Linked DNA regions of Homo sapiens: regions 1 and 2 are each linked to region 3. The links are contacts of gene promoters, found by promoter capture Hi-C in human tissues and cell types (Jung and others, 2019). All regions are on one chromosome and are shown on one strand. The core of a region is centred on a gene start or on the middle of the fragment in contact, and the rest is flanking DNA. Distances in the headings are between cores, read along the strand shown. Region 1 overlaps UFD1 (ubiquitin recognition factor in ER associated degradation 1). Region 2 overlaps HIRA (histone cell cycle regulator). Region 3 holds the start of DGCR8 (DGCR8 microprocessor complex subunit).

What was found. Contacts are between HindIII fragments. The study calls those that stand out against the background at their distance.
Region 1: a contact is called between a fragment that was not itself captured here and the fragment with the promoter of DGCR8 in region 3, in 1 of the 25 tissues and cell types used here (dorsolateral prefrontal cortex).
Region 2: a fragment that was not itself captured here is called in contact with the fragment with the promoter of DGCR8 in region 3 in 1 of the 25 tissues and cell types used here (dorsolateral prefrontal cortex).

What each region holds. Positions count from the first base shown.
Region 1 is chr22:19,460,144-19,464,287 of GRCh38, reverse strand. All of the region lies in intron 6 of UFD1 (ubiquitin recognition factor in ER associated degradation 1), which reads left to right. Among named protein-coding and RNA genes, the nearest start is that of C22orf39, 15 kb to the right of the region's middle. The HindIII fragment of the contact is 3,163 bases long and covers 924-4,086 here.
Region 2 is chr22:19,424,236-19,427,996 of GRCh38, reverse strand. The region is part of intron 1 of HIRA (histone cell cycle regulator); the gene reads left to right. Among named protein-coding and RNA genes, the nearest start is that of HIRA, 5.6 kb to the left of the region's middle. The HindIII fragment of the contact is 8,909 bases long and covers 1-3,761 here.
Region 3 is chr22:20,077,504-20,081,568 of GRCh38, reverse strand. DGCR8 (DGCR8 microprocessor complex subunit) reads right to left here and starts at 1,328. Exons shown (of 14, transcript NM_022720.7): 1 at 1,186-1,328. RefSeq lists an enhancer at 510-569 and a silencer at 830-1,449. The HindIII fragment of the contact is 8,782 bases long and covers 1-4,065 here.

The sequences.
Region 1 (4,144 bases), core at 1,256-3,755, 620 kb after region 3:
CTAGCACTTAGCTCCTTCACAGCACTCTCTGGTCCCTTCGGGGACTGGGCCGTCACAGCTGTGTCACAGCTGCCTGTGGTTTAGCCAGTTACTCCCTTGGTGTCAGTGCAGGGATCCAGCTTATTCTCTGGCAGTTTCCTCATATTTGAGGCATCTGACCTTATTTTTCAGTTCCTTGGGTTTCGAATCACACTTTCTTTTTTCCTTTTAATAAACTAAGAAATAATCTTGTTCCCTTTAGCTTTGTGGAGAACATTTTAGGTATCGTTTACCTTAACTGAATACTCTAAGCTTTTATAATTAATTACAGGCAGTTTAATGTTATTGTTTTTAATGTTAAGGTAGTAATACTACATATAACTCCTAAACTGATGATAAAGGATAGTACTGATACTTTGCACTCTAAGGGAGGGTACATTATATAAGAGTGTATGTAAAATTGAAACACAGGTTTGAACTTCCACTTTTAGAAGTAGGGAAAACTAGATCCTCTAATGGGCCCTTCTGATTAATGTACTGTTGTGCTTATAGAGAATTTTAAACACTCTAAGCTGGGTTGCCCTGAGGGCAGATGGCCATATCAGTGCTCTAGTGGGAGATCTGAGTCAGAGATCAGGATTGAACGGGAACCCTTAAAAGCAGTAAAATATACACAGAGGTGGGTGTTGTCATTGTCTCAGGAGAAATAAACAGATCCTCTCTGGAAAAAGCACTCCAGTTTAGTTACGTCTTTGGGATTGCTGTCAATTGAACAAGCAAAGAACACATAATTAAACTACACCAAAGCAGAGACAATAAAAATTAGATCCCTAAGGAAATCAGCATTAGAATTTCTAGATACAAATGTAAAATAATTAGATATAAAATGTTCAAAGATATTTTTTAAAATGGAATTATAATAGCGAGCAACAAAAGGCTATCAAAAATAACCAGAAAGATTTGAAAAACAATGTTAAACAACAGCTATAAAAGAGTTAATGAAAGATGAATCTGAAGAAATAACAGAATTTCACACAGAGGAGCAAGGGGATGGAACATATGAGAGCTTGAGATGTTGAAGACACTGAGAAAGTCAAACATGCCCATTGCAATCCCAGTAGGAAAGAATGGAGGAATTGCAATAATCTGAAGAGATGGTAACTGAAATTGATTTAGAATTGGTGGTCAGCCCATCATGACAGGAAATTTATAATGTATAACAAACAGAATAAGCTACAGGTAGAAAATACCAAATACAGAGAGGTAAGCAGGGAGAAAACACAGTACCTTCAGAAGAACAGCAAGTAGCAGGTCTTTGAATAGCAACAGTTACAGCCAGTATCAAGTAACTATCATCAAAACCTTCCTTAAAGAATAAGGGCAAAGTGAAAATATTTTCAGATGAACCAAATCTGAGAGAGGTTATTTACCAATGGAATTTTAAAAGCATGTACTTTAGGAATAAGCATTATCCTAGAAGGAAAGCAAGAAGGAATAGGGAATAAATAAATTGGCAAATATGAATCCAGGGTAAATGTTGCCATATAAAGCAGTAATAATGTTTAATGTATGAAGCTTAAAAAATGACATCTAAAATGTTGGAAAAGAGTAAGTCTTTAGACTTACTCTCTTTTTTTTTGAGAGAGTCTCTCTTTGTCTCACCCTGGCTGGAGTGCAGTGGCGCGATCTTGGCTCACTGCAGCTACCACCTCCTGGGTTCGAGCAATTCTCCTGTCTCATCTCAGCCACCTGAGTAGCTGGGACTACAGGCATGTGCCACCACTTGCGGCTACTTTTGTATTTTTAGTAGAGACGAGGTTTCACCATGTTGGCCAGGCTGGTCTCGAACTCCTGACCTCAGGTGAGCCATCAGCCTCAGCCTCCCAAAGTGCTGGGATTATAGATGTGAGCCACCGCGCCTGGCCTAGACTTACTCTCTTGAGAGAGTTGTTTAGAATTAAAGTGTTCTCTGTTTACAATTCAATAAAGTTAATAAAAAAGATAGCTGAAGCTGGGTGTGGTAGCTCACACCTGTAATCCCAGCAATTTGGGAGGCTGAGGTGGGTGGATCACTTAAGTCCAGGAGTTTGAGACCAGACTGGGCAACATGGCAAAACCCCATCTCGACAAAAAATACAAAAATTAGCTGGGCATGGTGGCATGCACCTGTAGTCCCAGCTACCTGGGAGGCTGAAGTGGGAGGATCACTTGAGTCCGGGAGGCAGAAGTTGCAGTGAACAGTGACCGTGCCACTGCACTCTAGCCTAGGTGATAAAGCAAGACCTTGCCTCAAACAAAAAAAAAGCAAACCCTGAAAAGTCTACATGCATATTGAATGTTTAAAAACAAATAAAATGAATTAGATAAAGCAAATATCTTGAAAGATAAAACTGTGAAAAATTTTATACTAAGAAATGAGCCAACTTATTTGACATTGATAAATTATTTCCTAGAGAAAAGTGTAATTGAAGTTTGACTAAAGAAAAAAAAAAACAAACAGCCTAAATAATTGTATAGCCAGTCAAGTAATTCAATCAGAAAAATCTTAATCCAGGAAACACAGGCCCAGATGGTTATATATGCAAGTTCTTCCTCACACTCAAGCAATAAATTGCTCTTAGATATTCTAAAAATAGAGAAAGAACATATCCCCCAACTCATTCTCTGAGGTCGGCATAACCTTGATCACCAAAACCACACAAGGATAGGAGAAAGGTAAACTACAGATCATTGTCACTTGATACAGATACATAGATTGTAGATAAAATATTGACAAAAGAATCTGGTCATATATAAGGAAGATTCTATACGGCAGCTGAGTGTAATAAAGCTCCAGTAGTTAAGACACCATATGGCATTGGTTCTGGAGTAGACAAGTAGGCCAGTGGAAGAAAGCTTTATATACAAAGAATCTTGGTCCACCACTGAGGCAGCATTGATGTCACCAGGCAAAGGAGATACTGGGGTTGCGGAATCTGGGATATTGACTATTCCTAAGATGAAAAAACAAATTGAGTTCCTAACTCATACCATAGTCAAAAATAAATTGCAGATGAATGGGTAAATAATATGTGGTACACACATACAATGTAATATTATTCAACATTAAAAAGGAAGGGAATTCTGACACATGCTACCACATGGATGAACATTCTGCTCAGTGAAATAAACCAGATGCAGACAGACAAATACTACATTCCGCTTACATGAGTACTTAGAGTAGTCAAACTCATGGGAGACAGAAAGTAGAATCACCTGGACACCGTGGTTCACACCTGGCATCCCAGCACTTTGGGAGGCCAAGGTTGGAGGATTGTTTGAGCCCAGGAGTTTGAGAGTAGCCTGGGTAACATAGTGTGATCCTGTCACTACAAAAAATTAATGAAAAAATTTTAAAATTAGCTGGGCGTAGTGGCATGTGCCTAGTTACAGCTATTCAGGAGGCTGAGGCGGGAGGATCAGTTGAGTCTGCAGTGAGCCAGGGTCAAGGCACTGCACTCCAGCCTGGGGGACTGAGCAAGACCCTGCCTCAAGGGAAAAAAAAAAAAAAAAAGAATGGTGGTTGCCAGGGCCTCGAGGAAGCAGGAATCAAAAGTGAATGTTTAGAAACGTATAGTAATTTGGCATTGTCATAACCTCCACACACATGGCCACAGAACCAGTACTTGTCTTGGTGAGCTCTGGGCGTCTGGTGTGTGTTGTGTCTTGCTTCTGTGCAGGAGGACCACATGGCAGTCCAGCAGACTGCACATTTTTAAAAACTAGGTCTTCCCAGGTAGTTTGAGGAGCACCAACCTAGAAAATTGGTCCCATAGTTTAAAAAAAAAGTATTTAATATTATGCCAATACATAAAAGTAAATGGAAAATGTCACAGGAATATTTATCCTTACTAAATGCAATAGTACTTCTAGGGTACTGTCTTCCAATTCTTTCCTTTTCAGTTCTGCTTGCAGCCCTGTTGGTTTTATGACCCACTGATTATTTGTGGCCTTTTGAAAACATGAAAACGGTAGAGAAGCATGAGCCAAGCCCTAGGAGACATGTTTGAATGTTTATAGTAGTGTCATTAACACAGCAAAATGATTGGAAACAGGCCGGATGCTCAGTGGATAAGTGGTAGTATATCCACACAATGACAGATCCTTTTTTTATTCCTTATCTATT
Region 2 (3,761 bases), core at 199-2,698, 650 kb after region 3:
ATTGTTCATACATACACATTTTACTTCGTGTTCTTGGATACAGTATTCTCTATATATTTTATTTTAGAATTGACCAAAATAAGCTTTATTTCTAAGTTAGGTTAAGGTCAGAAAGTAAAAACAACTAGGTTTCTGGTTTTAAAGTTTGTAGAAATATGGAGTTTGTATGTTTAGAAAATCTCGTTGAGATTCATGGCTCTTCCCAACTCTGGGCCTTTGCTCCTGAGTTTTTTCTGGAATTCTCATGCCTGGGCAGACAGCGCTTATGCTCAGCTCTTTGGTGAAGCCAGTTCTAACCAAGAGGGCCAGGACTGAAAGAGCTCTTGTCCACCTTTGGCCTTTGGTTCACACTTTGATGGCAGTGTTATGAAAAGGGATTTGGGAAATTTTCAAGAACAGGGTAATTTGCTGGTAATCACATGGCCTTATGGTGTGTATTTTCTCCTGTCCTGCGATTGGATTATTTTTACCCCTACCTTGTGTCATTCTGAAAAGGATTTGAAGCTGTCCTACTGAGACATCAGCATGAAAATTAAATAATTCAGCTTGAAGGGAAAATGTAGGCAGAATCATATAATGATAAAGTTAGGAGTGGGTGGGTAAGGTCCAGCCTGCTGCCGGAGGGCACTGCAGACCTATGTCTGAGAATTGGCAGGGAAAGGATCCTAATGGTGAGGTTATATGATTGCAGTGGTTGAGAGATAAACATGGCAGTTGCTTTAGATCAGTGGTTCTACAGGGCAATGTCTAGAGACATTTGTGGTTGTCACAACAGGGTTGGGCAGGGTACGTGCTACTGGTATCAAGTGGGTAGGGGACAAATCTGTTAAACATCGTATAGCATGCAGGACAGCCCACTCATGGAGAATTATCTAGCCCCAAATATCAATAGTGCTAAGGGTGAGAAACCCCGCTCTGAATAAGTTATTTGCCTTTTGGTGTATTTGTCTTACAGTTCCGACTAGACTGTAAGTTTCTTGAGGACAAGAATTTTGTCTTCTGTTTTTGGAATCAGATATCCTGCTCTGGAGTCTCTGTGCCCTGCTGCTTACTAAATATGTGACATAAAAAGTTTTTCCATCTCTTCCTAATCTGTTCATGAAGTCAGTAATTCTTGCCTCACCTGCTCCATGTGGTAGCTCAGAAAATGCAAATTCTCTCAGCAATTTCTCTCCTGACTTATGCCTGAAGACAGTAGGTTGATTTAGGAAAATAACCAGAGTACATCTGAAGAGTCAGAAGAAAACTGGGTGAGATTTTGCTGTGGATTTTTCACTGATTTATGCAACAAACATTGAACCTTTCTGGTAAGAGTTCTGTGGGGACCAGAGGTAAATAAGGCTCTCTCTCTGAACAGAAAGCTGTGTGGAAGATAGATGAGAGAGATTGACATACAAACCGTATTCTAGAATGCAGGGCAGGGGAAACAGGAGCTAGAGGAATAAGCGTGATAGCCCAAGGAGGAAGGGCACTTCACCAGCAGAGTCGGGTTTGTGGATGTGTCCTTGGACTGAACCTTGACGTGACTAGAATTGTGATGGCAGAGAAGGCGCTACAGCACATGAGACCATCAGGAGAAAAGGCCCAGAGGGTGAAAGCATTTAGGGAAAGACATAGAACATGTTAGGAGGGAGGCTAAACAGGGCAAGAGGGAGAATGGGGCTGGGAGGCAGAGCCTTGCCAGCAGCTTGAACTTCCTTCTTGGGGTTAGGGGAGAGAGGAGAACATTGAGGCTTCTGAGGAAGCTGGATGAAACACCCAACCTGTGTCTTAGGCAGGCCCTAGAGGAGTTAGGAATTTCTAGTCTTGGTGAGATGCTCAGGGAGACAGGGAGATCACAGGTGATGGAGGTGAGAAATAGAGAGGCACTAAAGACAGGGTAGAGGTAGAATTAATGGGACTTGGCCATGTAGGCAGGTGACTGTAGATTTGGGCCACTCTGAATGTATTTATTTACTTATATATTTTCTTTATTTATTTTGAGACAGAGTCTCGCTCTGTTACCCAGGCCAGGCTGGAGTGCAGTGGCATGGTCTCAGCTCACTGCAACCTCCACCTCCCGGGTTCAAGTGATTCTCCTACCTCAGCCTCCCGAGTAGCTGGGATTACAGGCACATGCCACCACGCCTGGCTAATTTTTGTATTTTTAGTATTCGGTATTTAGTGTTTTTGTATTTTTAATACACATTTTCGCCACGTTGGCCTGGCTGCTCTCGAACTCCTGACCTCAGGTGATCCACCCGCCTCGGCCTCCCAAAGTGCTGGTATTACAGGTGTGAGCCACCGCTCCCAGCCTCTCTCTGAATTTATTTCTTTAATATGCTGCAGAAAGAATATGGATGAAGGCCAGGAAATGGGATTTTCTTAAACATTTGTTTTACTCTAAGAAGTGGTTGAAAACTATTTTCACTTTATGAGCAGAATCATAGTTACACAGCTGGGAGGGACTTCTGAGGAGCGTCTGGCCTTGACCACTGAAGCCAAGTAGGAGACCTGCTTCCACTGTGCTGATCTTGGGTCCTGTCGGTGACCAGGAAGAGGATGCTCTGTGTCTGGCTTGACCCCTCCCTTTCCCCAGAGGTTGCTAGCATGTTCTGTTCATCCGGGGTGTTTGCCTATGGACTGCAGAAGTGTCTAGCACATGAACCAGAGGTATGGAATGAGCCCTGGGGACCAAAAATTTATGCAAAGCACATTTTATCATCCTGCCAGAGTCAGCAACAACACCTAGAAGTGAGTGGGATTGTGAACATTGTGCATATTGTCAAATAGCACAAAGGGAGTGTTGCAAATATTGTAGGGTTGCCTGCCTTGTTCCTTGTTAGCAGAACCCCAATTTTTTTGGTCTGCCTTCTGCAGGCCAACCTGCTGATAGCCCTAAGCTGATGTGTGGGTAAATGCCAAGGATTTGTTGAGGAACAGCCATGTGATGCCATTTTGGCCCTTGAGACTAGGAGGGGACGTCTGCTGGGACCTCCTAGGGAATTAAATAAGAGGAGATGCTTGACAGGCTAGTCTCTTCTGCTGGACTTTACTAGGTCTGCGTGTAAAAGCCAGCTTGGAACAGGGCCGACACTGATGACAGGAGAGGAAGACAGAGGGACACGTCTCTTTAAGTTGCTAAATTAATGCACCCTGAAGCTGACCTATCTCAGGACTTGTTATATACGATAGAAGATTACCCTCGAAATTCTCTATGACTTGCAGCATTACAGTTCACAGATGGAAACTTAGGCTGAGTGAGATGAGGTGACCCCCTGGCACCAAGATTCCACTAGATGTGATGGAGATGTGTTGAGAGTCACACTTAGACTCCAGCCCAAGCCCAGACTTACTCTTTCTAATTTGCTAAGCACTGGTCTTTGTGCTGAGGCTGGCCACTCCGTCCTGGAGAGCTTCAGGCCCATTTCCTCCTCAGAAGGACAGCTTTCAGAAACCACGTGGTACAGCATGGGACCAGGAGTCTGGTCCCTGGAGCTTGTCCTCTGACTGCTTCTGTAGCCATTCTGAGTGCCTTGGGGCTTCTAACCTGGTAGGTTTCTCTTGAAATGTGCTTGGTGAGCCTTTTCTGGCATTTGATTTTCAAGAGTTCTCTGGTTGTGGGGTATCGAGAATGTTTTCAGTGAGAAGCAGAAGGGAGAGGTCTGTGCCCCAGCCTTGGACTTTGGGTCTTCCCCATTGGCTGATTGGTCCAACTAGGTCATGTGCCCTCTCTTGCATCAATCATCGTTGCCTACTGGCTTACATAACGGGCAGAGTGG
Region 3 (4,065 bases), core at 79-2,578:
CCTACCCCAAGGTCACGGTGAGACTACAAAACAACCCCTGGGAAGTGCTCCACACAGCGCCTGGCCGCAAAGGGCTCAAAGGGGAGCTCTCTGCCCGTAGGCCTCCCCACTGCTCCAGCTGACCAAACACCGCATGCAAACCCTGCCTTGCCAACAGGACTATCGGACAGGAACGGGCTCACGGCAAGCTCCCCTGGACCCTTGGCACGGGGAGAAAACCCGTACACTTGGACAGCACCCTTCCTCCTAGCCCACTTGCTGTGTTGGCTAACAGAGGCACTGGCTGTGACGGGCCAGCACCAGTGCCAGCGCCATGGAGGCTGCCTTTTGGTCAAGTCTCTCCCGCTGCAGCCTCCCGCCCAACCCAGCGGCAGTATGACCTCATCCGTTCCTTTTGTCATCCTCCAACAGGCCTCATATCCCGCACTTAGAGGCAACACTGGGTACCCCGGGCTGGCCATTCACTCCCTTTTGTGAGTGAAGGCCTGCAGCAGGGTTTGGGCCACTCCCACAGCTGGGAGTCTAGTCTGGCCAGGAAACAGTGGATCCTCGCCTGGTGGTTGGCCTCGAACAGTCGACAGCCAAAGACAGGACTGCCGTGCAGGAACAAGGTACATGCAAGCATGCAAAAAGGCAAATCAGACTCCTGCCACAAGAAACCCAAGTCCATCGGTTGACACCAGACAGGCATCACTGTCAACAGGTTGCCACCTTCCATTTATTTCCGCCATGCTCATTGTTACAATAAAACCGTATCCCAATTATCTACGTGACACTCAACCCGTGAGCATTCTGTGGACAAAAAGACTTAGGCGACTTCTTGGATTTCCCAAACTGTGTTAAAGCCGGCAGGGTCCCAGGCGAGCACTGGCCCTGTCCACACCTTTCCCGCCTGAAGGCGATGCTAGGCTTCGGGCCCTCCGGGAGAGGAGCCTCTTTACCCGGGCGGACAGCGACGAGAGTCGGCAACGCCTGGGCCCGGGGCCCGCCCCCCAGCCCCGGAGGCGTCCCCACCCCGCGCTCTCCACCGCCCGCGGCCATGTTGCCTCACAAAGGCCGGGCTCCGCGCCCCCGCCCCGCCCGCGGCCTCGGTCCCGGAGGGAGGCGGGAGGGAAGGGCGCGCCCTCGCGCAGGCCGCGGCGCCCGCCCAACCGCCCGCGGGCGCCCCTCGCGCCCCGCACCTACCTGAGGCGCCCGCGGGCTGCCCAAGCCGCCCGCAGCCAAACCACAGCCGGGAAAGCCTCACCGACCGACCGCCGCAGCCATCTGGAAAGCCTGTCCAGGCTCTCCGGTCGCCGGCACCCGCCTGCCGCGCCGGGCGAGCGGAGGGCGGGCCTTCGCGGCGTGCGGCCAATCCCCGCGCGCGGCCGCCCCGCATTGGGGGAGCCGCAGAGCGCGCTGCGGAGGCCGCCAATCGGCGGCGCGTAGCGCGTGTGTCCGCCGCGCGCGGCCCAATAGCGCGGCCGCGCGGGAGGGACCAGGCGCCCAGGCCGCGGTCGCGCTAACAGTCGCTGCCCAGGCGGGGCTCGCTGGACTGAGGGCGGCGGCCGCGAGGAGCGCCGGGAACGGGAAGCACCGGGAATGCCGGGAGCAGGGGAGCGCGGGAAGCTCGGGGAGCGCGGGGAATGCCGGGAACAGGGAGCGCGGAGTACGCCGGGAGCGGACACGCAGACGGGCCACCTTCGGTGGACACTGCAGAAGAGACCGTGCACACACAGGCGTTACACAACCCTGTTAAAAGCATCACTGTATCAGACATCATCATTTATAAAGAACGCGTGTGCTCAACTGTCTGGCGCTGTCCCCTTTGCTAATACAGGATTTCCAAAACAGGGAGGGTTCGGCCGGGCACGGTGGTTCGGCCGGGCACGGTGGCTTGCGCCTGTAATCCCAGAGTTTTGGGAGGTCGAGTCAGGAGGATTACTTGAGCCCAGGAGTTCGAGACCAGCCTGGCTAACATAGTGAGAGCCCAGTATCTACAAATTTTCTTTCTTTTTTTTTTTTTTTTTGAGGCGGTGTCTCGCTTTGTCTCCCAGGCTGGGGTGCAGTGGCGCGATCTCAGCTCACTGCAACCTTTGCCTCCCGGATTCAAGCGATTCTCCTGGCTCACCCACCCGAGTAACTGGGATTACAGGCGCCCACCACCACGCCCGGCTAATTTTTATATTTTTGGTAGAGACGGGGTTTCACCATGTTGGCCAGGCTGGTATCAAACTCCTGGCCTCAATTGATCTGCCCGCCTCGGCCTCCCAAAGTGCTGGGATTACAGGCATGAGCCACCGCGCCGGGCCCAAAATTATTTTTAATTAGCCGCGTGGTGGCGGGCGCCTGTGGTCCGAGCTACTCGGGAGGCTGAGGTGGAAGGATCACCTGAGTCCAGGAGTTCCAGGCTGCAGTGATCCGAGATAGCACCACTTTCACTCTAGCCTGGGCGGCAGAGTGAGACTCCGTCTCAAAAAAAAAAAAAAAAAAAAGGAAAACGAGGGTCTGAGTAAGTGAGGGTACAGCTCTTCCTTAGACTAGCTTTCCTGTCAATAAATGTGGAAGGAATAGTGGAAATAGAAAAATTTTCCACTGGGTAGCCACCCCAATAATAGCTGCTGTAGACGAAAATCTTGAGTGATAAAAATAGTGGGCCGGGCCCTGTGGCTCACGCCTGTAACCCCAGTACTTTGGGAGGCCGAAGCAGGCGGATCACCTGAGCTCAAGAGTTCCACACCAGCTTGGGCAACGTGGCGAAACCTTATCTCTACTGAAAATACAAAAAGTAGCCAGGCGTGGTAGCAGGCACCTGTAATCCCAGCTACTCGGGAGGCTGAGGCAGGAGAATCGCTTGAACCCGGGAGGTGGAGGTTGCAATGATCTGAGATCGGGCCACTGCACTCCAACCTGGGTGACAGAACGAGACCGTCTCCAGAAAAAATAGTGAGCAAGGCCAGGCACAGTGGCTCATGCGTGTAATCCCAGCACTTTGGGAGGCCGAGGCGGGCGGATCACTTGAGGTTAGGAGTTCGAGACCAGCCTGACCAACATGGTGAAACCCTGTCTCTACTATAAATACAAAAAAAAATAGCAGGGCTTGGTGGCAGGTGCCTGTTGTCCCAGCTACGGAGGCTGAAGCTGGAGAATTGCTTGAACCTGGGAGGCAGGAGTTGCAGTGAGCCAAGATCCAGCCACTGCACTCCAGCATGGGCAACAGAACGAGACTCGGTCCCCGGCCCCCAACCCCCTACAAAAAAATTAGGCCAGGCACAGTGGCTTACGCCTGTAATCCCAGCACTTTGGGAGGCCGAGGCGGGTGGGTCACGAGGTCAAGAGATCAAGACCATCCTGGCCAAGATGGTGAAACCTCGTCTCTACTAAAACTACAAAAAAAATTAGCTGGGCATGGTGGCACGTGCCTGTAGTCCCAGCTACTCGGGAGGCCAAGGCAGGAGAATCACTTGAACCTGGGAGGCAGAGGTTGTGGTGAGCCGGGATCACGCCACTGCACTCCAGCCTGGGTGACAGAGTGAGACTCCATCTCAAAAAAAAAAAAAAATAGTGGGCAAAAACATGACAAACAGGTTTTGTTTTGTTTTCAGTGTTGCAAAGTTTCTCCCCCAGGATACTAATTGCCTAGGGAAAATAGTAGTTTTAGAGTGGAAGAAAACTTGGGCGACACCACCTTTAACCAAGCCATCAAGGTCACCAGCAAACTTAGCAAATTGTACCATTTAAACATGTGTATTGCATTGTATATAAATTCTGCCTCAATAGAAATGAAAAAAGTTAGTTCCAGTAAGAGGACATACTGTGGACCTCCTGAGAAGAACACAAGTTCACTTGTGGGTATTTTTGCCCAAAAGGCAGAATCTGAATGAAGAGCAGACAAACCCCAAATTAGGGGCATTCTGCAAAATTACCAGCCAGTGCTTTTCAAGTATCGAGATCATTCAAGTCAAAGATGGACTGAGGAGCCATCTTCAATTAAAAGAGATAACAAAATGCAGTGTGGAATCCAGACGATAGATGGGATCCTGGCTCAGAAAAGGGACATTAATGGGACAATTGATATAATTCAAA